7 separate regions of the Homo sapiens genome follow, and regions 2, 3, 4, 5, 6 and 7 are each linked to region 1. The links are contacts of gene promoters, found by promoter capture Hi-C in blood cells and fetal thymus (Javierre and others, 2016). All regions are on one chromosome and are shown on one strand. Each heading gives the region's core, a stretch centred on a gene start or on the middle of the fragment in contact. The rest is flanking DNA. Distances are from core to core; before and after follow the strand shown.

Region 1 (3,477 bases), core at 390-2,889:
AATTATTTTAACTTTTTTTTGTAGAGATCGGGTCTCATTATCCTGCCCAGGCTGGTCTCCAACTCTTGGCCTGAAGTGACCCTCCTGCCTCGGCCTCCCAAGACATGTAGGCATGAGCTACTACACCTGGCCCACATGATCTATTTTTTAAAAAAAATATTTCTTCTTACTTCAGGATCCTAATTACTGAATTCTTATACTTTTAAGAAATGCAGTGGTTCAATGCATACTCCTTGTTTCCCTCTAATTTGTCCTATCAAAATGCTGGCCTTCTGATTTAATGAAATAATAGTATGATGCTACCATTCTTTGTTTTGTCAACCTAAGCACCTGGTTCTTCTTGACAACTGCACATTCTGCTACATGCTGTGATGACCAGGAGAATCATTTAAATTTTTATTTGGAGGACTCACTTCCAACTTGGAACACAAGCTGCAAAGGAATTCCCTACCAGCATGCCAGCACATCATTTGGAAGTTCAAGGTATTCTTGCTCAACAGCTGCACACACATTAAAAGTCCCTGGGGTACATGGCGCCTGCTGCCTGGGGTTGGACTCTGTCGCCGGGGATTCCAGAAATTAGAGTAGAATTCACAGCTCTGCCTCTCCACCTGCTGTGAGGTCTTCAAGTTACAACTCCGCCGCCTATCAGGGACCTCCGTGATTAGTAAGGGAGAAATTGTCATATTTTTCTCCCTAGATCACAGGTCTGAGGAAGCAGTTTCCCCAAGATTTTGTAAAAGTGGCTTTATAATTAAAAACATTGATTTTCCTATTAGAAAGGCTACTATATCCTTTGGAAAAAGCTTAGAAGTAGTCCGTGAGTCTTGGCTTCTTGCCGTGGCTCCCCCAGGATATGATCTTGGGCGAGTAACCCAGCAGCCCTGACTCTGCTTCCCCACTTATTAAACAGGTTACTAACACTGTCCTATCAGGTAGGACAATGAGAAGGAAAGAACCAAACAAGAGGAGTATCAGACGAGACCACCAGACTTAAGATCTAAAATCCGGCGTCCTCTGGAGGGCGGATGAGAAGAGGGGTACACTTGGCGGTCTGGAAAATGTCCTGGGGCCAGTTTCAGGTTTAGGAGCTTGTGGGTAGCGTGGTTTCCCACACGCTGCCTGGCTTCCTACTCTCCCCCGCAGGGGCTGCCTCTCCTCCCACCCCGGAAGGCCGGCACCGGCTTCCCGCACTCGCTGAAGCCCGCACGGAGGCCGGGTGAGCCTGCCGCGGCCTCCCCCTCCCACGCCCCGACGCCATGGGCCCTGCTCCTCTCCGCAGACGCTGCCCTCCCGCCTCAGGCCCCGGGCCCCGGGCACCGGGCCCGCCCTGCGTCCTGAACCTCGGCATCCCGCTCTCCGGTCCACGGGACCCTGCTCTGCGGACCGCCGACCTCTCCGCTCGCGGCTGGCCTCCCTCGGGGCCCGGGCCGGCCAGGCCTGCTCATTTCCTTGGCGGCCGCTGGCATAAGGCGGCCACACGGAGGGCCCGGGACAGCGGTCTGATGGCGCAGCCCCGCCTTGCCCCGGCGCTCTGACCCGGCCAGCGGCCTCACTCACCGCAGCGGCGCGTGCCCGCAGACAAAGGCCGGCGCCGAGCCCGCAGCAGCGCCAGCGCCGGCGCCGGCGGAATGGACTACAACTCCCAGGAGTCTCCCCGCGAGCCCGCCCGCCGGGCCGTGGGTCTCGGCGGCCCCGGCTTCCCAAGAGCTCTGTGGGAAATGTAGTTCTCTGGCGCGCCCTGCGCTCGGGCCCCGCAGGTCCCTAGGGCGCGGGGACCTCAAGCCGTCCCGTTTGGACTGGTAATCCGGAGACTCACAGCGGTGACCTGTCAGCGGACGCGGAGCCGGGACGGAGCCACGGCCGCTCAGATTAGCAGGATCTGATTGACAGCATCGGGGTAGCAGACGCTGAGCCAGGGACTCAGGAATACAGGGTTCTTGCAGGGCGTCGCGGAAGGAAACGAAGTTTTTGGGAGAAATCCGTTTGATAAAGCCTTGGCGGCTTCGAGGTCATGTGTTGAGCCTCTGGCTGCATGAACAAAAGCGAAGCCCGCTTTCATGGAGCTTCTGTGAAGAGCAACAGGAACACAGGCAGTCCAGTCGTCCTGAGATACTGGGAGGAGCATGGTTGCTTTTGAACACGTAGGAGATAAAGCCTCTCTAATAATGCCTGTTTTTTTTTTTCCTTCACTCTGTCTCCCAGGCTTGAGTGCAGTGGCACGGTGTCGCCTCACTGCAACCTCCGCCTTCTGGGCTCAAGTGATTCTCCTGCCCCAGCCTCCCAAGTAGCTGGGACTACAGGTCTGTGCCACCATGCCTGGCTAATTTTTTTGTATTTTTAGTAGAGATGAAGGTTTTACCATGTTGGCCAGGCTGTCTGATATGCCTTAAGCCTCTTTTAAACGCACTTTTCCAGGATCGGGGCCACATCCTGGAGCTGTTCTGCCTGGCCGGGTGTATCTCTGGGTCCCTGCCTCTGGAGCCCCTCTCCGTAGATGTGTCTGTCCATCCTCTTTCGTGAAGGACTAATAAAGAATGCTTCCTCTTGCTATGTTCTTGTTCTCTACCCCAAAGCCACAGATTTGTTAAATCAAACAACTTAATTTCACTCAATATGCAAAGGTGTCTGTAAGTAATAAGTTGATTCCTAAATGTTAGCTTTTACTATTGCACATCATTTCTGAATTTCATTCAACATTTATCCGTTGAATCCATTTTAAGTGCTGACACTGGGGATACGAATGTGAGCAAGACACACTCCGTGCTCCTAGGGAGGAGCTGACAGTCTGGTGGAGCAAACAAACACCACCTTCCTCACATGGGGGTCGGGGTGTTGCACAGCTAAGTCCCAGAGTGTGTGGTGCAAACTGTCCTGAAGCTCCCCATTCCTGAACTGCCCCAGGTGGCTCCTCTCCTCACTCCTCCCAAGTCTGAGAAAGGGGTGGAGGGCGGCACACAGCAAAGGCCAAGGCTCAGAGTCCTAAGGCTGCGGCCTCTGCTTCACACAAGGGTACATAGGTTCTGTTAAGGTCAAGACCGGCTGTGGACACTAGGACAAGTTTCAGATCCTGCCGTGAAGGTACATGACAAAGCATTGGTGGGAAAAGGTGGCTGTGAGGGGGGACCATCGTCACTTTTATAGATCTGCATAAATTCCCTTAAGGCGTCTCAGGAAAGTGGACACATTGAAGGGCCCAAAGCAGGGGAGAAAGCTGTTAGGATTGGGGTTGATGTGACCCCAGCCTCCATAGACAGACTGCCCAGCTGCAAAATGGGGCACATCCTCACCCACCACCTGCATCTTAAGGCAAATACTCAACAAAAGGGAGGGTGTGGGGTGAGGGTGAAAGGGAAATCATCCGCAGTGTAGATTTGAAAAATTACCAAAGAACAATTTCCTCACTTTGCAGGCATTTCAAAATATTAGGGGAAGGACAGATAATTCAATAAATGGTGTTATGACAAGGGCTAGACA
Region 2 (3,477 bases), core at 649-3,148, 1.3 Mb after region 1:
GCCTTTGTTCCTACTTGGAGTTGGTTGGTATCATCTTGAGAAAAGGCTTCGTGCAGAAGAAACACAGTGTCTTGTTAACAAGACTTTTTGTCCCTTTGAAATAGCCTAACTCCTCTGTTTCATGTTTCTTTTTTTATTTGAGATGGAGTCTCACTCTGTAGCCAGGCTGGAGTGCAGTGGCACGATCTGGGCTCACTGCAACCTCCACCTCCTAGGTTCAAGCGATTCTTCTGCTTCCTGAGTAGCTGGGACTACAGGTGCGCACCACGATGCCTGGCTAATTTTTGTATTTTTTGTAGAGACAGGGTTTCACCATATTGGCCAGACTGGTCTTGAACTCCTGACCTCGTGATCCGCCCGCCTTTGCCTACCAAAGTGCTGGGATTACAGGCGTAAGCCACTGCACCTGGCCCTCTCTTCCATATTTCTTTGGACAAGAAAGCCTAATCCTAATCCTGGCTTTCTGTATAACTCAGTCATTCTGCACCTCAACTAGAATCGAGCTGGGGGAAGCAGGTCGAGGTTGAGTCTGACTCTGGCACAGCGTGCTTCATTTTATTGTGCTTCTTGTTACTGTACCTTGCAGATTTTTGCAAATGGAAGGTTGCTGTTCAGCAACCTTCCATTTGCAAAAATGTGCACTTTTTTTTTTTTTTTTGCTGCACCTGCGGTTTCTGCAAATTGAAGGTGTGTGGCAACCTTGTGTTGAACAAGTCTATCGGTGCCGTTTTCCAACACTATGTGCTCACTTTGTGTCTCTGTGTCAGATTTTTTAGCAATAAAGTAGTTTTAATTAAGGCATGCATATTTTTTAGATGTAGTACTGTCTCACCCTTAAGAAACTACAGTATAGTATAAACATATCTTGTATATGCCCTGGGAAACCAAAACATTTGTGTGACTCACTTTATTGAGATATTCGCTTCATTGTGATGGTCTGGACCTGAACTCACAATGGCTCCCAGGTGTGCCTGGACTTATCAGAGCGGGGATACTGAATAGGTCCTTGAGCTCTCTGAGCCTTAGCTACCTCCTTGGGAAAACAGAGCTAGGATCTCAGAGGAGGAATATGCGAATCTAAACTTGAGTTTGAAAAGCAAGGAGAGGTTCACCTGCAGAGGAGTCACATTCGCTGGGAGGCACCAGCACCAGGGGGGTAACATGTAGGTTTTCAGGAATCATGGAATCCTTTGAGTCAGGGCTCTGTCTTTTCTAGGTGGGTAACTCTGAACAAGCTGGTTAACCTCCTAAAGCCTCTGATTCCTTTCTAAGAAAAGGGGACTAGTTATAGCTGCCTCAAAGGGTTGTTATGAATATTAAATCAATGATTGTATGTAAAATCTTAGCGGGTTCAATACACAGCTAGGGTTTATTGAGGACGGACCTATTATGTGTCAGGCAGAGTCCTGGTTGATTTCATATATGGTGTCTCTTAGGCAAAGGCAAGATACCTGCAAAAATATAATGTGTCCCCCCACCCCCCAGCCAAATTGTGAAGAAGCTCTGTGACTGGAGCACATGGTGCTTGTTAGGCAACCATAGTGTCATACGTGCGAGACAATGAGAAGAACTACAGATGTTATTGCACAGTCCCCAGGAAGCCTTCAGATACTTTTAGACCCGCGCTTTCAAACAGTGCTTCTCACATTGAACTGCACAGATCGCTTCGCCTTGTGTTCTACAGACGCAGACTCTGATTCAGATGGTATGGAGCAGGGTAGGGAAGGGAGCCGAGACTGTATGGATGCAGCTGGGCTAGACGTCACTTGGAGGTGCAAGGGTTTTAGAAGTCCGTTCCTGTAGGCAGCGGTGCAGACTACGGATTAGAGGGACTGAGACCAGAAGGGAACAAGCTGGGAAGCTGATATGGTGTGATCAGTGCCTCTACTAGGCACTGCTGGGAGAATGAAGAGGAGGAGACAGATTGGGTAACTTTCAGCCTTAGAATCAACAGACAACTGGTGACTTAATCAATAGAAAGAGTGATGGAGAGACTGATTCCCCCACCCTTGTGAATGACTTCCATGGCCCTGGTTCCTCGGGTCCAGAGAGCTGGCCCTTCTGGGTGTGTAGACATCTTCCTTAGGCCTCTGGAAGGAGTGCACTACTACAGCTTCCCGGAGTGTCTCCCAGGTCTGGGAACAGCTTATGTGTGCATCAGCGTGAATGGACAGGTGCAGGTGTTCCCAGATCTCAGCGTCACCTGCTGCCTTGGTCTGTTCACCGTTGTGATGTCAGTCCCTTGTCCCCTCTGGGCCTGACCTGAACTTCTCTCCCTTCCTGGTACAGACCTCCGTGTTTACTCCAGCCTATGGATCCGTGACCAATGTGAGGGTCAACAGCACCATGACAACCCTGCAGGTGCTCACCCTGCTGCTGAACAAATTTAGGGTAAGCCTGGTCAGGAGCAGCCTTGCCCCAGGATGCCAGTGGTCTGCTATTCTGTTGGGGGTGGGGTTCTGGGGAAAGCTGCCCGTGGCAGAAGCTGCCTGGGCAGAAGGTCTAGCAAGGGTCCCTCTGCTGAGCTTTGGTTTCTCGGATTTCAAGCAAGAGGAGGTTGGGAGAGGACAGGTTCCTTGCAACTTGCGTGTGTGTTACTGGGGGTGTAGTTACTGTCAGGGGACCCTCTCAGTTCTCTCCCATCTCCAAGCACCGTGATCTGACTTCCTGTGACTGCCTGTGCAGGTGGAAGATGGCCCCAGTGAGTTCGCACTCTACATCGTTCACGAGTCTGGGGGTAAGTACCTGCCCCACTTCTGGATCGTAAAAGCAAAAGGTCTCTACCTGTTCAGCAAGCCCCCTCCCCACCAACCACTGACTGTACTCCCTTCCAGATGGGCTCCGTGCTGGCTTGCCTAGTGGGCTAGGGCACACTGTGCCTCCCAGCATGAACATTTCTCCCCCACCCAAACCCAGGCACACTATGGAAGCCTTGAGGAAAAGAAAACATACTTTTGGCTTCGAATTTAAAGCACATTAAAATGTCCTTGGATTTTCTAGGTCGCTCAGTACATTAAGTTTAATTCTTTCAGGATTCTGAAGGAGAATCCCACCAAGCTATAGGAAGCCTCCCTCTCCGCCTCTTCCAGAGAAATGGATGGGTGGGTACCTAGCTCCTTGGCGCCGAGTCAGGAAGGGTGGGGTGCGTGTCGCAGTGCATCAGGCCCTGGCCCTCCCGTCTCAGCTTTCCTTTCTCCCACCCCTCAGATCTTGTTTCTCTTCAAGCTGCACCTTTGCTGAATGACACTGTAGGGGAGGAAAATTATCTTCTCTTTCTACCCATTTAGGTTCACTGGCTGGGGCCCTGTATTTAGATTAACAAAAGACAGATTAAGGAGAAGAACAAACAGAAGTTTGTTAACACTTGCATCATGCATGCCCTTTGGAATATCCAGGGATGAATGGTCAGAATTTGGGCTTAAATAGCATATTCACAAAAGAGCAGTAAGTTTTTAGAGAAGTGACAAGACAGAGGAG
Region 3 (3,477 bases), core at 672-3,171, 1.3 Mb after region 1:
TGCAAGCTGGTCAGCCATCCAGCTGTCATCTGTCCCTCAAAGCCCCGGGCTCAGCTGCTAGCCTGCTGATGAACAGTCAGCTGTTTGACTACCTGGAAAGGGGAGCAAAAGGGTAGTGTTCTTGGGAGATAAAGAGGAACTGTCTCTGTTGGCCAAAATGGGGATTTCCCATGGGACTTGCTTGACTGGCTGAATGGCTTGTTACGGTCCACAGAAGAAGGAAGAACCGAGTCATGATCTTTGCACAGAAGAGAAGAGGTATTTCGAGAAGCCAAGTTGCAGTTAAGTGGAATGTTATGCCCTGAGTTTCCCATTATGACAAGGGTGAGACAGCTGCATAGAAAGAATAGCAGCATCCAGGAAGTCAGGAGTCCAGGAGTATGGTCCCACTTGACTCTGCTGGGATTTGGAGTCTTGGGTCATTCCCCACATGAAACCCAAGGGATAAGGCCATCCCAAAAGGTCCTGCCAGCTCCAAGCCTCAGGGATGCCCAGCTGTGCACATTACCAGGGGGCATTTGCCCAAACTTAAGAGCAAGCCCAAGGAAAATCCAGCACTGAGTCTAAACATATGCTGTGCAATTCTTTTTACAGTATGAGCTTCTGGAAAGCTTGCATAGTCTCAGGACAGGGATCTGGAGGAAATGGGGAGCATCAGAACCACAGAAGGTTGTACTGGGAATAACTGGGGCAGGAGCAAAAGCCCATCCAAGCAGATGTTTACCACCTCATTGATATGGAAGACTCTGTGAGTTTCAAATCAAATTTCCCTTTAAAGAGCAGATAAAGAGTAAAGCAAATGGGCCATGCCTTTGATTATTCATTTGTCCCTAAATAGGTGCTTCTACCTGAGGCTGCACACGCTCCGCCAGGGGTGAGGATGCCACCAGCCCACTATAGCTTCAGTTTCCAGCTTCCAGGAAACTGGATGAGGTATTTGCAGGCCCCAAGTCTTGAGTTCCTCTTTCCACATTGAAACATGTTCCTTTCTTTTAAACCAACAGCACCAGCATAAACTTAGAGAATAGGTTGCTAAGGGCAAAAGTCGGTTTAACTCAGCAAACATTTACTAAGCACCTACTGTGTGGACCAGGCATCACACAAGGTGCTGGGCTGAAGGAGTGAGTCTGGCATGCTGTGTGCTCTCTAGACAAGCCAAATGTGTGACTGACATGAGGCAGACATGGCACTACAGTAAAATCACAAACAGTATGCTATGAGAGAGGAAGTCAGGCAGAGGGAAGTCTGGGAAGGTAGATTTGAGTTGAGCTTCGGAAGCAGAGCTGGAATCTTATCATGCACATCATTGTCTATCTTGGGACAAAGGAAGCATGGCCAAGTCCATCAGAGTCTGAAGCAGGTGGATTTATTTTCCATATGTAACAAGGCGTTTGTGCAGTAAAAAGAATATAAGGCAAGCAGGCGTATCAACAACAATGATGATAATCACTGAGAGCACTGAGACCTCAGTGGATTCAGTGCTTTGCCTGCTCCATCTCCTCTAATCCCCAGAGCCTGTGAGGCCAGGTCCCTTACAGCCCCATTCTATAGATGGGAAACCACAGTGCGTGGTAATTTGCACACAGCTAAAAACAGGTAGAGCCTGTATTCATTCCAGGCTCAGAGCAGAGATTCTTAATGCCATCAGGAAACTAAAGTCTGAGGCTGGCCACAGACCTCACCTGCCTGATGGCCTGGGCCTCTCTCCTCTCATCATCTGAACAAGGGGGGTTTTGACCAGGTAACCCCTAAGGTTCTGTTTCACTCAGTTTGGGCTGCCATAACAAATACCATACACTGGGTGGCTCAAACAACAAACATTTATTCCTCGAAGTTCTGGAGGGGAGGCTAGAAGTCCAAGATCAGGGTGCCAGCATGGTCAGGTTCTAGGGAGGGCTGGCTTCCTGGGTCACAGAGAGCTGCCTGTTTGCTATAGTCTCACGTGGAGGAAAGAAGTCATCTCTCTTATGTCTCTGCTTACAGAAGCACTAATCCTATGCAAGAGGGTTCCATGCAAATGATCCAATCACCCTGCAAAGGCCCTACCTCCTAACGCCATCACACTGGGGATTAGAGCTTCTACATATAAATTTAGGGGAATACAATTCAGTCCATAGCAGGTTCCCTCCAGCTAAGTCACCTGGGATGCTAAGTGTTCGGGGTGGGGTGTGGCAGTGCAGATGAAGAGGAGGAAAAAGTGGCTCATCAATGTGGGGGATAAAGGAAGCATGAGAAAGGGGAGCACTAGCTCAGGTGGAGAAGGCAAATGGAGCCACTCCCCACTTTGGTTGTGACTGCTGCTGACTGCTGGAGGCCTAGTGCCCTTTGAGTTTTCTCTGAGTGACTGATAATTCCTGAGCGGAGCTGGGCCCCAGCAGAGCCTGGGAGCTGTGCCAAGCTCTCCCTCCAGGCCCCAGCCGTGCCACCTCCAAGACCAGAACAAGAACCCTAGCCTCAGCAGGGTCTCCCCAACACCATGCAGATAAAAAGTGGCCAAGAAAATGTCACCTTAAAACTCAGGAACACAGCATGGACATCCAGGCTTCTCCTCAGTTTCCTTCTAAGGGCCCAGGGCTCCTGTTATTCCTGCTTGCTGTGCTCTAATGCCTGGGACTTACAGAGAAGGCTGGCAAACAGAGTCCAGCCAGCACCCAGCCTCCAAAAGCCTCTTGTGCCCTGAGCCCAGAGCTCACTGCCACCTCCCCGAGCCTCCAGCAGCCCATGGGGGCTTTTCTGGTCTCAGGCCCAGCTGCTGCTCTCCCCTTCACCAGAGCATTTTCAGTTCCCACTTCTCTGGCCTGAGTGGCCCCCTGTGCTCCTGGCCACACTCCTTCTCTCTCTCCCCATCTCTAGGTCCTCTCCCAGCTGCCCCAAGCCTCACTCCTCATGCATGGTGCTCTCCCGAGGAGCTGCTCTCCCAGACTTCCATCTCTCCAGCCTGTTCCCTCTCTCCCTCTTGAGACCCAGCTCACACATTGCAGGCCGTGATCTCGCCCCTGGAATAGACCCCCTCAGCTGCTGGGACTCTGCAGGGTTGTGGCAGGCATTGCACGGCTTCTCCCAGGGGATACTATTGACCCCGTTTTCTGATGGAGCTTGAATTGTCCTGGCTCATGTACCTTCCTCCCCTTGGCCAGCCATGTCCTGCATTGGGTTAGTCACAGTGGTCCACCCTTCCCAAGGTGCCTGCACCCTAGTCGTGGCCAATGGGAAGAAAGGGAAGGTGACTGGGAAGCTTCTGGGAAAGGTTTCCTTCCCTCAGTACTAAAAGGATCCCCAGGTGAGGCGCCATGGCTCACACCTGTAAATCCAGCACTTTGGGAGGCCAAGACGGGAGGATTGCCTGAGCCCAGGAGTTTGAGACCAGCCTGGACAACAAAGTGAGACCCCGTTTCTACAAAAAATTAGTCAGGTGTGGTGGCATGTACCTGTGATCCTAACTACTTAGGAGGCTGAGGTGGGAGGATCACCTGATCC
Region 4 (3,477 bases), core at 438-2,937, 1.3 Mb after region 1:
CTGCCATCTCCCAGATGCGGTTCAGCCTCTGAGCCCATTTCCACACTGCCATCTAGACACACAGATCTCTCTGACAACCTTCAAGAGCTTCCACCACCTCTGGTCCACACCCTGTGCCATATTCTGGCCTCTGCCTCACTTCTTGCCACTCATGTACAGCAGGAGGCTTCTGACTCTTTTTCAAACTCACCAGCATGGCCTCGCCTCCAAGCTTCACTCATTCTGTTGGGTGCCCAAGCACCGTCCACCCATTTCCACCTGCCCAATGCCTGACACTCCTTCCTGGCATTCTGCCCTGGCAATTGTGCCCTGAGCCTGGAGCCCCTGCTGGCTGGCAGTGACTTCTCCTGGTTCTGAACACCCTCCGTGTCTAACTGACCATGTCCCTAGCCGCTGTGCACCATTGCCCTGGGATCCAGAAGCAGGCGGGCCTTCCTCCTCTCCAGTGGGTCCCTAACTCTCGGGTCAGGCCATGGCAGGTGAATGCAGGCTGCCTTCTGCCCAGAACCCTGTTTTGTCTCTGTTTTGAGGGGACCCTATGCCCATGTGGTCTCTGGGTGGTCCAGTCCAGCCTGGGGTCCCCTGCCCCTTGCTGTGCCCTGTTCTCTAACACCTGCAGGATCAGCACTCAGTACCTGCCCTGTCTGTCCCTCCCTGCCACTCAATAGCACCAGACAGGAAGTCTGAATGAGTCGCTTTATTCCCCAAGCCTTGATATACCCCTCTGTCCCAGGGCATAGAAAAAGGCAGTGGCAATTATTTTGCAAAACACGTCTTGATGTGCCTGTTAGGCACACAAGCTCTGGAGCCTGCGTGCTAGGTTCTGATCTTCCCCCTGCTACTGATAAGGGGCCATTGGTGATGGGGCAAACCTCTCTGTGCCTTAGTTTCCTCATCGGTAAACTGACAGTAATTATAGTGTTTATTATAATATAATATAGTACTTATTATAAAATTGTTGCAAGGACTAAATGAGTTGATATTTGTAAGGCCTTTAGAATTATGCCTGGCCCATAGCAATCATTACATAAATGTTAGTTATTATCATTTTAAAACCAAGGGGTAAGAGTTAGGCTCACACTGGGAGGCATAGAGACTGAGAGGAGTGGAGATCACTAAATGATCTAACTAATCACAGGGAGAGAGAAATGATAACTAGAATTGATATAATCACTGTGTGCCAAGCATGGTCCTAAGTGCTTTACAAATATCATTTAATTCTTAGAACAGTTTTACTGTTGATGCACTATAATAACCCCAGTTTACAGCTGAGGAAACTAAGACAGAGAAAGGTCACACCTCTCACCTGTGATCACACAATCTAGAAACACCCATGGCTCTGAGGAAACCCTGACCCCAAGCCACCTTCTGCACAACACTATCCACTTTCATTCCTTCATTTATTGCAATGCTCATTAATGGAGCCCAATAAGCCCGACCCACTGTGAGCCTGGGCTGTACAGAAGAATTAGACAGGGAACGCCCTCTGGGGGTTCACAGACTAGTGACTCTGGTCATATGGTACCACATGGAGAAGTAAGAGGAGGTCACCAGACAGACTGGAGAGGGAAGGGGAAGGCCTTCCAGGAAAAGCTCACTTGTGCAAAAGCCCTGTGGCACCTGATAGCTTCTTGTGTTGTCAAGGGAACATGGAGGATAGGCAGTGAGACCCTCCGTAAGTACATATTCCATTTCCAAGGATTCTGATGTGAGTCTAGGGGTGGCCTGGGAGCCATGAATTCTACACATTCCTCAGGAGATGCTGATTGCAGGATCCATGGACCACACTGGGAGCACAAGGAGCCTTTGAGGCATCCTGTATCAGGAGGAACATGATCAGATTCAGGTGTCAGGCAGCCCAGAGTGACACAGTGGGGGAGCAGGAGACAGGCCTGGGGTAAGTGAGGAAGTGGAACTGGTGCAGGGGTCCAGGGGGCAGGGCCTGAACCCAGGCAATGCCCATGAGGTCAGAGAACAGGAGCGATTTGGAAGGTATTGAAGGAATGTAATCAACAGCTCCTGGTGACTATTTGGATAATAGGAAAAGGAAGAAGGAAAGGGTCAGGAACAGGTCCAGGTTTAAGGCTGGAACACAGGCAGTGGGTGTCCATCCTGGTGACCAGCAGGTAGAAGGATGTGCCTGCCAGTGTCACACAGGGTGCCAGGTGAAGGCCATGTCACCTGCTGGCCACGGTGCCCTCCCCACCCATCTCTGAACCCCAGACCCCACCTCTCCCCAGCATGGCCCAGTCCGGAACACGCCATGTCCTGGAGACAGCCCGTGGTGAATGTTGTCTGGGGGAATCCAGGTGAGTCCATTGGCTGTAGATGTGATGTCAGGAGGCCACGTGTGAGAAGACAGCCCTCAGGAAAGCAAAGGAAGACAGAGGCGCCAGCCTCCCTCACCTGTCTCCACCTGCAGGTTTACAGGAGCCGCTGTCTCCATATGTGAAGGGGCCTACTTTGTGGCTCAGCTGCTGGCCATCTGCTTCCAGTAAGTAGTTTCCAGAGAGACCCCTCCATTGTCCACCCCAGCCCCAGACACCACAGATGTCTCCACCCAAGAGCCCACAACCAGGGGATGTCCTGCTCCTGAAGCCACTGTGGACAGGAGCCCCCCACCGAGGTACAATCAGCCTGGCCTGGAGGTGGGCACAGGCCCAAGGGGCTCCATTGCCTTCTTTGCCCTGGTCCCAACCAAGAGAACCAACTGACACAGTCATTCAGGGCCTGTCCTTGCCCAGAATCCCCAGAAAAGTCCAGCTCCCCCTCACCAGGAGCAGCCAGTCACTGGGCCCCAGTGTCTGAGCCATCTGCCATGGGGTGAGGACCCTGCAGAAGGCCCAGCTGGGAGTGAGCAGACCTGGGTTTGGGAACTGGCTCTGTCTCTTCCTAGGGCCCGGGGGCAAGTCAGGGGCAGTATGTCTCTACACCCCTTCGTGGGGCAGGAGTGCAGACCCTGCAGGATCTCGTGAGGCCCTTGCTGCTTCCCAGCCTACACTCAGTATGTGGAAGCTGTTATCGGTGAGACCGAGGACTGCGGCTCTCAGAACCTAGACACTGGTCCCTGGGTGGTCAGTGAGAGAGCCAGTCTTCAGATCCAGATGTCCCAGCACCTTGCAAGGCCACTGGCTGCCTCTCAGGCTCACCAGCCCTAAGGCAGAAAGCTTTCCCCTTTCTGCTGAATTCCACTGCCAAGCTGTGCTTGAAACTTCAGCTGGGGAGAAGGCTGGGGAGGAATGGACCCTGGATGGACTCCACCGCACCCTGCCACCACACACACGCAGGAATGGGCACCAGGGGGCACCAGTGAGCCATGGCAGTCCAGCCTGCGAGCATAAGAGAGCAGTGCTTTGGGCCACCTGGACAGCCTGAGCACTCCCTCAAAGCTAGAGGGGCAGGATGTGGCTGTGTAGAGCCCCAGCTCTAGGCCAATTCAGAGGATGGAGGCGCTGGGTCTAAAGGCAGGCACTTGCC
Region 5 (3,477 bases), core at 576-3,075, 1.3 Mb after region 1:
TGGAGATCACAGGCTTCCCTCGGGCCCATGCTGGACCCTGTTAACAGAACACCCTGTAGGAACCCAGACCCCTGTCTGAGGTCTGACTGCAGGAATGCACTGTGGTCTTAGCAGCAGAGATGCTTCCCAGAGATGCTGGGCTCCTTCCTTCACCCAGCAGAATCACAGGGCTGCTCAACTGGACAGGAGGGCAGACTGTTAGAGCAGAGCCCAGAGCCACCATCCTGAGCCCTGCCTGCTCGCTTCCCCAGGGCAGGCCTGACCCTTAGCCCCATTCCCCCTACAGAGCCAGGATCTGTTTTGGGGAAATGAACAGGCAGAATTCTGAGCCCTTAACTCTGAGCCACATTGTCCCTTGGGGACAAAGAGAGACACACCCCCTATCAAAGCCCTTCCCCACCACTGGGCAAAAGCTTACCCACGGGTCTTACCAAATGGGAAAGTTCTCCTAGGTCAAAATCACATAGTGCTTGTTCCTGCCCCAGCCTAGTCACTTGCGTGATATATGACCTTGGGGAGCCCCTGACCCCTCTGAGGCTGCACTTTCTGATCTGTATGATGGGGACCTGCTGGCCAGGTGTTTGGACAGATTAAGGATGCAGGAACTGAGCATGGCTAAGTGGAACTGAGGATGAAAACCTCTCAGCAGAAGCCCCCATGACACACTCCAGAGCTCAATGGGAAGCTGGGTCATTTCAGGAGCACTGGGCTGGGTTCAGCCGTGAGCTGGCCAGTGGGCTCTTCCAGCATCTAGGCCATGAGTTAGATCATGAAGGGCTGCTGGATGGTTTAACCCCACCCCTCCTGCTACAGGATGGGGCACCTGAGCTCAAATGCAGGTGGTGACCTTGCCCAAGGTCATGGTCAGAGGGACAGCCAGCCCGGAGCCCTGGTCCTTCAACTTTCACAAAGGCCAGGGCTCTGGCCAAAACCTTCCCTGTCTTCCAGAGTAGGCAGCAGGAAGAGGTTCAGAATTGCTCTGCTGAGGCTCTGAGTGGAGGCACTGAGGGAGGAGCCAGATCCAGCCACTTTCAGAACCACGTTGTCGTCTACACATAAGAGAATGATGGCCAAGACCCCCAACAAGCAAAAAAGCCATCCTGGGGAGAGGAAGGCCACCCTAAATAGGTTTCCATGTCTGTTGATCTGAGTCCACCCTGCTCCCTCTAGGCTTTGGTTTCCAAATCTGTAAAATGCCAAGAATCCCACAGTTCCCCCAGCCACACTCCACCCAGAGCTGAGGCCCACCTCCCGTCGAGAGGCTGTTCTAAGATGTATGTACCTATCCTTCTAATGGATTAGCTAGAGACAGTTTAACAGTCTGATTTATCTCAGTCACCGGAAGAGTCTGCAGCCCCTGACACTCCCATGTGCACGCACACACACACACACACACACACACAAACCCGTGCGCGCGCACATAGGGCTCGTCTTAACCACAGCCTTTATCTCCGCACAGGGACTGCTGTTAATGCTGAGAATGGGCCTCCCTCTTGGTTTTGATAGGAGATTCAGACTAAAAATAGCCATGAGCTCCCTTCTAATGGCCAGGCTTTCAAATGATCTTGCTCGGGCTTTCTAGAGTGCTGGGAGGGAGTGGGAGGCTAGAGAGAGGGGTTTGGTGTTCTTGGGCAAATCTCGAGTTTCTTCCAGCATCACTGAACTCCTGGCCTATTTCCAGTACATAGGATTTGCAAATTCCTTATTCTCCTAAGCCTCTCTTTTGTTGAAATCTTCTGTTGAGAAATCCAGGCTTCATTTACAAGGGCACTGCTGCTAGAGAGGAAATAAGACCGGAAATAGAGGGCCTCACTTTGCAGAAACCCTAGGGAGGTGGGGAGTGTGGATTTCTTAAAAGCTAGGAAGACATGTGACCCAAGGGCACTCAGAGTGTCACCTGCAGGGACCAGGCAGCTGCTAAGAGGCTACAGCCTCTCATTAGCAGCCTCTTCCCTGGACCCCCTGCAGACAGGATCAGGGCTGTCAAAAGCACTGACGGCACCTGGTGGGTGCCTCTGCCAGCATGTCAAGGCCCTATGACTGTGGATGAAGCCACAGCCTTTGGATGAAGCCTCCTTAGGATTCCTCGAAGTCCCGCAGACCATTCTTGCCCCACCTCAGTGTCCAGCCCCATATCATGAGGGGTTGTAGAGCACAGACGGATCATTGCCACCACCAAATTGGGATAAACAGGCCTCAGGTAGTTGCACCTGGGTGGAAGTGTTTCTAAAATTAGAAAATTCCCTCCCTCTGGAGCAGTCATGTGGTTTCCAGGACATAACAGACCACTCCCGCATTGTTTACACCGGGTTCATTTGCTTCACCTCCCTGGCTCAGGATGTGGGGTTGGGGGGCAGGCGCCCATGGGTCCATGTGCATGCATGCGCCCGTGTGATGTCTAAGTGCCTCAGTTGCTGAGACGCGGCATCCATTGCCGCCCATGGAAGCAGACACAGCTGGGAAATGGCACACAGGCTGTGAGCACTCCACATTCCCCTGTGCGGATGCCGGAGCTCCTGCCTGTCCATCCCTCAAAGCAGGTTCTCCCCGTGTCCACTAGAGACAGGGTAAAGATGTCCTGAGTGTGAGACTCAGGCCCCAGAGGAGGCTCAGCCCTGTGACAGGTTCTCAGCACAGACCAAATGGCAGGAAAGGGGTCCTGGGAAATGGATTTAACTGAGCCTGGAGCACAGCGGTCCAGGGCACTCCTCCCCTGTGAGATGAGAAAGGACCTGTCCCACAGCATTGGTCCCAGTTGCAGGCTAGGAAAGCAGGGTTGGCTTCCCTTTGAACTTCAGCCATCCTCTTACCCTTTAACCTCAGGGGAATCTTGAATAACTCCTTTGCCACTCCCCAGCCCCTGCTGAGGTGGCCAGGAAGAGCATGGGAAGAGCCCCCTTTGTGGGACAGAGGAGGCACCTCTCAGGCCGTCCAGGCTGGGCATGGAGGGAAGGGGAGACATGTCCCTGAGCCCCGCCTTGTAGTGAAAGCCCTCCCCTCAGGCTGTGTCCTCACACACAGATGTGCATGGGCTTCCCCATAAGAGGCTTGCTCAGAAAATGTCTCTGGGCACTTGAGCAAGGCCTCCCAATTTCCCTCAGAGCAAAGAGGCTCCAGCTTGAGGCCCCACTGCCCCATCTCCAGGGCTGAATTTCACTCTTCCAGCCTCTGCCCAGAGCAGAGGTTGCTGAGAATGAACATGATTATTTGAGTATTTACTCAAATAATACTCAAAGCCCAAGCTTTGCACTGTGTATTTTAAATGCAGTATCGCATTTCATCCTCCTGTCATTGGGAGCATCATCATGTTCATCCTCATACCCACTGTACAGGAAGGGAAACCGAGGCCTGATGGAGCGAAGCATCTTGCTCAGGGTCTCACACCAGGAAGCAAGAAGACAAAGTTCCACCTGATGATGGTCTGCTCCTGAGACTCCACTCCTAATCGTTATTTCCTCCACCTGAATCAGGATTAAA
Region 6 (3,477 bases), core at 569-3,068, 1.2 Mb after region 1:
ATCCTGGCCCAAGGACCAGGTCAGTTCACATTAAACCTTGTGCTGGCACCATTGCTATAAGCAGTCTTCAAGAGAAGCTATGTTGTTGTTTTTGCCCAAGCAAGGGTCCCTTCCCGTTTTATCATCACATATTTGAAGTGAATATCAGAGATGAAGATTAATTAATTGCAAAGAAAAATTATTATGCAATGATCTGTACAATGTCCACCATAAGTCTTACCAATTCCTTGGACTTCTCCTAATGGAAAACCATATAACAATTTCAAATGGCATTTTACCAGAGTCCAGGGCTTTTCAAATCCATCTGCACTCTGGTTCCACAAATGAAAAGCATGCAAGAATTAGAGATGAAGTGTTGGGTGTGTGATGCTTTGTATCTCAATTCCATGGATAGCTGACTCCATGCTGGTGTCCAGGATGGCCTGTCCTCCAGGTTCTCAGGCTCTGGATTGTGCCTCTAGCACTCACTTCACTGTGGATCCCAATCTGAGGATGGCTTTACCAAGCGTGCACAAGCCCCTCCATGGGAGAAAAAGAAGTGATCTCGATTCAGAGGGTGGACTCTACTTGAGCTCCTTAGGCAGGTGTGAAGGTCGCTAGGGCTTGTTCTGACTCCATAAGCAAAAGCAGCAGTTCTCTGAGAGCCTGACCTCATAAAAGGATGGGCGTGGTGGGAGACAGGGCTCTCCTTCCCTCTTCCTTCTCTTTCACTCATTAATCTTCCTGGACTTTTCCAACTTCCTGCATTCCCAGGAGACAATACACCTGATGTGCAAGCTCAGAGCTTCTTTTGTTTGATTGGGCTTTGATTTTGTTTCTAATACATTTTCCTCTGCAGGAAGAAGTCTAACTCCACTAATTTATTCTAGGGAACCATCAAGTGACATCCAACAGTGTGCATTCAGCACAGCAAGAGGGCTGCAGACACAGAGCCCAGGCCACAGGCTGTCCAGCTCACCCCACCACACTGATTACAGGACAGAGCTTCTGCCTTCCAGCTCTGCGAGAATGATGGTGCCAATGAGATGGGTGGTCAGGGAAAGCAGAGCCACATGGAGGGCATGGCCTGTGTACCCTGCAGAGGCCATGGCAGGGCCTGGTTCTGGCTGCTGCAACTATATCACAAACACATATGGGAGTAAACAGACTCCTGAAGTTGAAAGAAACTGAGAACTGCAAGACAGGACCACTTTATGGAGGACCTGAGATTCTGCTCAAGAAACTAGAGTAGGACAAGACCTACCATGCTGGACTTGGTCACTGGAAAGCAGAGAAGAGTCCATGTGCAAGCTGACTCGGCTGGACTCCCAAACCCATGGCCCTTCGCTATACCCCCAGTCAAAACGGAGACAAACTTGGTCACAGGCAGTTATGCACTGCAGTTGACTTGTGCTAGCTTGTGAGAGCTGATGGTTAAATTTTCAGCTATTTTTAGAGCTGGATGTTAAACAAAGCCATCATTAAGTTATTTTCAATTAAATAAATTAGATAAAGTGTAATAAGTACCCCAAACTCATCACATCCTAATTATTTGACTACGTTTTCCTCTTATCTCTGCTCTTGGTCATTTAGTGTCTATTGCACTACACAGGGGAGATGCTGTCTAACATTGTGATTCTAGGCATCTCTTCCCAGCCCTGCACTCAGTGACATCATGTGGGTGGCTTGAAATCAGCCACAGTAGGAGTATTTATACCACAGAAATTGGCAAATGCTATAGGTAAGGGCTTTTTCCCTGGACAGTTTTTGTTAAATACTTACCTGCCAGCACACTATTGTCCCAGAGCTTCATGAGGGCTGCCTACATGACCTGCAGGGGAACTAGAAAGCTGTTGAAATCTTACACTGGGGAATAACATGGTTATTCTGTGTTTTTGAGCCACCCCCTGGCTGTCGTGTGGCAGACAGTCAGCCAGCAGTCGATGGCACCGCATCAGAGGATAAATAGGCAGACCCTGGGGCCCCAGCAGCCGATAGGGTGGTAGCCAGGGAGGTGGAAAGGGCAGGGCTTCTGTTGAACTGGGAAGCACTAGAGGAAAACTAGAAGCAAATGCTGGCCCTGAGGTTTTAAGCCTGAGATACAGGCAGATGCCAATGGTATCAGCCAATTTAGAAGCCTCAGAAGGCTTAAAGCAAGGACCAGGACTGAGAAGAGATGAGCCGCTTTAGGCTGTTCTGAAGCAGAAGAAACTGATGGTGCCCATGAACTTGAATACAGGGTGCAGGCTAAGAAGAGATTGGAGGACAGATGCTCACATGCTTAGCTAGCAGATCATGTCTGTGCCCAGTAGTTTTTACAGTTTTACAAGCCTGTCACTCCCTGTCACTCTGAGAGCCTGACTTCATAAAAGGATGGGTGTGGTGGGAGACAGGCCTCTCCTTCCCTCTTCCTTCTCTTCCACTCATCAATCTTCCTGGCCTTTTCCACACCACACCCAGAAAGCAGGGGTGTAACTGGGTCCACCAGGGCAGCAATTGCAGGTTCAGCAAGGAGCCTCTGGATCTGTGGCCAGCGCAGACCAGACAGGCACACTGTGCCAGGGTGGGGAGAAGTGGAGATGCAATGGTGACCCCAGGCACAGGCCCCCCTGGGAGGAGGATGTGGGAGGAGAAGGCTGCACAGGTGAGGGTTGAGCCTGGGGTCAGGCTCTACCTCCCTATGAAGTGTGCCCCGCCAGCTACTGGCTCTTGGCCACCCTGGGAGGGATGAGGTCAGCTTCCCACTCTGACCCAGGACTGGGGAAGCAGAATATGCCTCGGTGCAGAGGTGAGGAGACAGGAGAAGAGGCCACACCTGTGTGGGCACACCTGCCAGCACTGGGACAAGGTCTAAGTAGGGTGGAGTGGGAGGCTGGGAGGAGTTCAAGCTAAGAAAATGGGGTGACCCCAAGGCAGAGGCCTGTTGTCCAAGTGCAGCTGTTCAGAGGCCATTTTCCCTGGTTTGTGGTAGGAAGGGCCTTCATGTGTATGCGGTTCCTGCTCGCCCTCTAGGCAGCCTGAGGCATTGGAGAATACAGAGCCAGAGCAGGAGGACCAGGCAGTGTTCTGGGCCTGCTCCTTACTAGCTCTGGGGCCAGCCTCACACAAAGTGTGCCATTCACGTCTTCATTCAGTGCAAATATCTTATATGTGCCAGGCCCTGAGAACACTGGGGTGAGCGGCCCCACCAGGTCCCTGCCCTGACAGAATGCACACCCCAGTGTAGGGAGGCAGACAATGAACAGGAATGTGAATGAGAACACACAGGTATGTCCCTGTGACTTGTTTAGTCATCTATAAAATGGGACCAGCAACGTCACCAGCCCTACCCATGCAACAGGACTGTGGGACATCACAGATGGGACCTGCTGGAACTCAGGGGAAACATCATGAACTCACCCACAGCTGCCTTTGCTCTCCTTTTTTTCTTATAATAAAATGTACATAACATAAAATTTACAATTCTAACAATTTTTAAGTGGCATTGGGGACATCTAC
Region 7 (3,477 bases), core at 684-3,183, 1.2 Mb after region 1:
TACAAAGAACGAAAACTATAGACTATTATCTCTATGAATATGAATGCAAATTTTGTGTGTGTGTGTATATACACACATATATATATATTATTTTATTTTGTTTTATTTGAGACGGAGTTTTGCTCTTGTCCCCCAGGCTGGAATGCAGTGGCATGATCTCGGCTCACTGCAACCTCTGCCTCCCAGGTTCAAGCGATTCACTTGCCTCAGCCTCCTGAGTAGCTGGGATTACAGGCACGCCACCACACCCAGCTAATTTTTGTATTTTTAGTAGAGACAGGATTTCACCACGTTGCCAGGCTGGTCTCAAACTCCTGACCTCAAGTGATCTGCCCACCTTGGCCTCCCAAAGTGCTAGGACTACAGGTGTGAGCCACCGCACCTGGGTCTATATATACACTTTATACCAAAATACACTTTAAACAAAATTTCGGCAAATGAAATCAAATCCAACAGTATGAAAGATCATAACCAAATGAGTTACATGCCAGAAATGCAAGGTTGATTTATAATTTGAAAATCAATTAATGTGATTCAGCATATTTTGAAATTAAAAAAGAGAAACCACAGAAGTGTCACAATAGACATAGTAAAAGCATTTTCAAAAATCTAACATGCATTCTGGACATAAACTCTCTCAACAAACTAGGAGTAGAAGGAGCTTCCTCAACCTGGTACACGGCCTCTACAAAACCTTCTGTCCACATTACCATTAATACTAAAAGACTTAATGCTTTTCCCCTAAGATGAAGAACAAGACAAAACTATGTACTCTTACAACTTCTTTTCAACATTTTTCAACATTTTCTAGCAAATACAATACAGCAAGAGAAAGAAATAAAAGGCATTGAGATTAGAAGGGAGAAGTAAAACTGTCTTTATTCATAGATAACAGGATTTTCTATATTGAAAATTCAACGTGGCCTACACAAAAAGATATTAGAATTAACAAGTGAGTTTAATAAGGTTGCAGGATAGAGGATCAATATACAAAAACCAATTGTTTTATATTTTCACTAGCAATGACAATCAGAAATTAAAATTTAAATCTAGTATCATTTAAAATAGCATCAAAAATATGAAATACTTAGAGATACATTTAACAAATGATATGAATGAACTGTACACTAAAAACCATAAAACATTGCTCAGAAAAAAATTTTAAAGAGCTCAAAAAATGGAAGATACGTTGCATTCATGGATCAGAAAATATAATACCACTAAGATGTCAATTTGCCCTCAAATTGATATAAAGATCAAAAGACCCCCTCCCTGTACCCTAGATTCCTCTCTACCTCCTGGCATCTCCACTTGAATATCTAATACCACTAATATGTCACTTTGCCCCCAAAATGCAAAAAAAAAAAAAAAATGAAACTTCTAGAAGAAAATATAGAGAGAACTATTTGTGAGAAGCTTACTGAGGCGATTCATTCAATGAAATGCCACTCAGCAGTAAAAAGAAATGATCAGTCCCCATATAAGCCCCCAAAGCAGGGAGTAGGGGGGTTTGTAGAAACTGACAAAGTTATTCTGAAAGACAAATGTCCCTAAATAAGAAAAGCTACACATGGCCCAGACACATAAGAGCAACTGAGATTTGACAAAGGTGCAAAGGTAATCCAACGTGGGAAAGATAGTCTATTCCAGTCTATCAAATGGAAACAATTTGATATCCATATGAATCAAAATGAATTAAATTCATATTTTGCAGCACCTACCAAAATTCACTCAAAACAAAACAATGAATCTTCTATAAGCATATATAGGAGGAACTATTTGTGATAAGCTAATGTGGTGATTCATTCAGTGGAATGCTACTCAGCAGTAAAGAGGAATGAACCATCGATACAAGCAACATGGAAAAAAGTCATAATCATTATGCTGACTGAAAGCAGCCAGACAAAAAAAAGGGTTTTTGTTAGATGCTATTTATATAAAATTCGAGCAGACTAAGCTATACTGATGGAAAGCAGATATTTTGTGGAGAGGCTCCCCATGTGCAGAGACGCAATGGGGAGGGCAGAATGGAGGACTAGAAGGGACAGGAGGCAATGTGTGGGGTGACGGATAGGGCCACTATAGTGATTGTGGTGGTGATTTCATAGATGTAGACATATGTCGGAACTTAGATCGTGCACTTTAAACATGTGCAATTTATTCTGTGTTGTTTATACCTAAACAAAGCTGTAAACATTCATAAAGAAGGAAGACAGGAAGGAAGGAGGGAAAGAAGGAAGGAAGGAAGGGAGGGAGGGAGGGAGGGAGGAAGGGAGGGAGGGAGGGGAGACGGAGAGGCAGGGAGGAAGGAAAGGGAGGGACAGAGGAATTTACACCCTTGTGGAAGGAAGGAAGGAGGTAGAAAGGGAGGAAGGGAAGGAGAAAAGGATTCACTCCCTTTTGTCACGTGTTCAGACTCTCAGAAAATATCACTGAGCGTTTTCTCTACAGAAGCTTTCTCCACCTGTCCTTTGGGACACCGTGTGCCTGTAGTTTTCCTCATACTTTCCTGGATGGTCTTTCTCCTTCCCCCAACATTGCCCCAACCTCTCAACTGGCAGCGCCCTAAAACTCAGTCTTCTTTTCTCTAACTCGCCTCCTTTGGTGAGCTCACTGGATTTCATAGCTCTGAATCTCATCTCTACACTGACCACCCTCAAATGTCTCCCTGTAGCTCAGACCTCCTCCCTGAACCCTAGAGTCCTCTCTACCTCTTGGCATCGTTGCTTAAATATCTAGTAGAGATCTCAAACTTGGCATTTTCAAAATTCCCACAAACTATGCTTCCCACTGTCTCCCCATCTTAGTAATTCCCACTGCTCGAGTTAAAAATAGCACACACACAACAAAACCAAAAAAACACAGAATTACCCTTGGCCCCTCTCTTTTTCTCGTTCCCCACTTTCAAATCCTTTGACAAATTTGTCAAGCACATCTTCAAAATTTACCCAAAATCCAACCACTTCTCACCACCTATATAGCTACAGACCCAGCTCAAGCCGGAGTGATTTAGTGTCTGGTCCGATCCCCGCCGCCTTCACCCCTGCCCGTCACTGGCCCTCAATAGAGCAGCTAGAATCTCTCTCACACACCAACTCTTCCAGCTTTTTTTTTTTCCTCTTTTTACAACATTGGCCAGAACCTCAAACACTGTGCCAAACGGAAACAGTTAGAATGGATGTCTTAGTCCATTTGGGCTGCTATAAAAAATACCCTAAATTGGGTGGCTTATAAACAACAGAAATTTATTGTTCACAGTTCTGGAGGCTGGGAATTCCAACATCAAGACACTAAAATATTTGGTGTCTAGTGAGGGCATGCTTTCTGCACACAGTCTCACTGTGTCCTCATACAGTAGAAGGGATGAGGGGGTCTCAGGCCCTAACCCCATTCCTGAGGATTCTGCCCCCATGACCTAATCATCTTCCAAAGGCCGCACCTTTTAATACCATTATCTTGAAATTTTCAATATATGAA

The links. The method cuts DNA at HindIII sites, captures the fragments that hold promoters and counts their contacts. A CHiCAGO score of 5 or more calls a contact.
Region 2: a fragment that was not itself captured here is called in contact with the fragment with the promoter of ZNF32 in region 1 in 1 of 17 cell types (naive B cells); the score reaches 5.9 in naive B cells.
Region 3: a fragment that was not itself captured here is called in contact with the fragment with the promoter of ZNF32 in region 1 in 5 of 17 cell types (naive B cells, total CD4 T cells, total B cells and 2 more); the score reaches 7.1 in naive B cells.
Region 4: a contact is called between a fragment that was not itself captured here and the fragment with the promoter of ZNF32 in region 1, in 1 of 17 cell types (total B cells). The highest score is 6.6, in total B cells.
Region 5: a contact is called between a fragment that was not itself captured here and the fragment with the promoter of ZNF32 in region 1, in 6 of 17 cell types (fetal thymus, M1 macrophages, M2 macrophages and 3 more). The highest score is 7.7, in fetal thymus.
Region 6: a contact is called between a fragment that was not itself captured here and the fragment with the promoter of ZNF32 in region 1, in 1 of 17 cell types (M2 macrophages). The highest score is 5.7, in M2 macrophages.
Region 7: a fragment that was not itself captured here is called in contact with the fragment with the promoter of ZNF32 in region 1 in 12 of 17 cell types (total B cells, endothelial precursors, neutrophils and 9 more); the score reaches 11.7 in total B cells.

The regions. Positions count from the first base shown.
Region 1 is chr10:43,647,242-43,650,718 of GRCh38, forward strand. ZNF32 (zinc finger protein 32) reads right to left here and starts at 1,640. Exons shown (of 3, transcript NM_006973.3): 1 at 1,561-1,640. The region is part of intron 1 of ZNF32-AS3 (ZNF32 antisense RNA 3); the gene reads left to right. ZNF32-AS2 (ZNF32 antisense RNA 2) reads left to right here. Exons shown (of 3, transcript NR_047558.1): 3 at 328-778. RefSeq lists a silencer at 1,146-1,665. The HindIII fragment of the contact is 4,172 bases long and covers 805-3,477 here.
Region 2 is chr10:44,986,985-44,990,461 of GRCh38, forward strand. It overlaps RASSF4 (Ras association domain family member 4), which reads left to right. Exons shown (of 11, transcript NM_032023.4): 7 at 2,290-2,391; 8 at 2,686-2,737. Among named protein-coding and RNA genes, the nearest start is that of DEPP1, 9.9 kb to the left of the region's middle. The HindIII fragment of the contact is 6,881 bases long and covers 1-3,477 here.
Region 3 is chr10:44,947,769-44,951,245 of GRCh38, forward strand. All of the region lies in intron 1 of TMEM72-AS1 (TMEM72 antisense RNA 1), which reads right to left. Among named protein-coding and RNA genes, the nearest start is that of TMEM72-AS1, 10 kb to the right of the region's middle. RefSeq lists an enhancer at 64-303. The HindIII fragment of the contact is 2,624 bases long and covers 610-3,233 here.
Region 4 is chr10:44,929,576-44,933,052 of GRCh38, forward strand. It overlaps TMEM72 (transmembrane protein 72), which reads left to right. Exons shown (of 5, transcript NM_001123376.3): 3 at 2,423-2,494. The region is part of intron 1 of TMEM72-AS1 (TMEM72 antisense RNA 1); the gene reads right to left. Among named protein-coding and RNA genes, the nearest start is that of TMEM72, 20 kb to the left of the region's middle. RefSeq lists an enhancer at 2,785-3,477. The HindIII fragment of the contact is 2,956 bases long and covers 210-3,165 here.
Region 5 is chr10:44,912,076-44,915,552 of GRCh38, forward strand. All of the region lies in intron 1 of TMEM72 (transmembrane protein 72), which reads left to right. All of the region lies in intron 2 of TMEM72-AS1 (TMEM72 antisense RNA 1), which reads right to left. Among named protein-coding and RNA genes, the nearest start is that of TMEM72, 2.5 kb to the left of the region's middle. The HindIII fragment of the contact is 2,829 bases long and covers 412-3,240 here.
Region 6 is chr10:44,888,407-44,891,883 of GRCh38, forward strand. All of the region lies in intron 2 of TMEM72-AS1 (TMEM72 antisense RNA 1), which reads right to left. Among named protein-coding and RNA genes, the nearest start is that of TMEM72, 21 kb to the right of the region's middle. The HindIII fragment of the contact is 5,924 bases long and covers 1-3,477 here.
Region 7 is chr10:44,867,138-44,870,614 of GRCh38, forward strand. The region is part of intron 2 of TMEM72-AS1 (TMEM72 antisense RNA 1); the gene reads right to left. Among named protein-coding and RNA genes, the nearest start is that of TMEM72, 42 kb to the right of the region's middle. The HindIII fragment of the contact is 1,038 bases long and covers 1,415-2,452 here.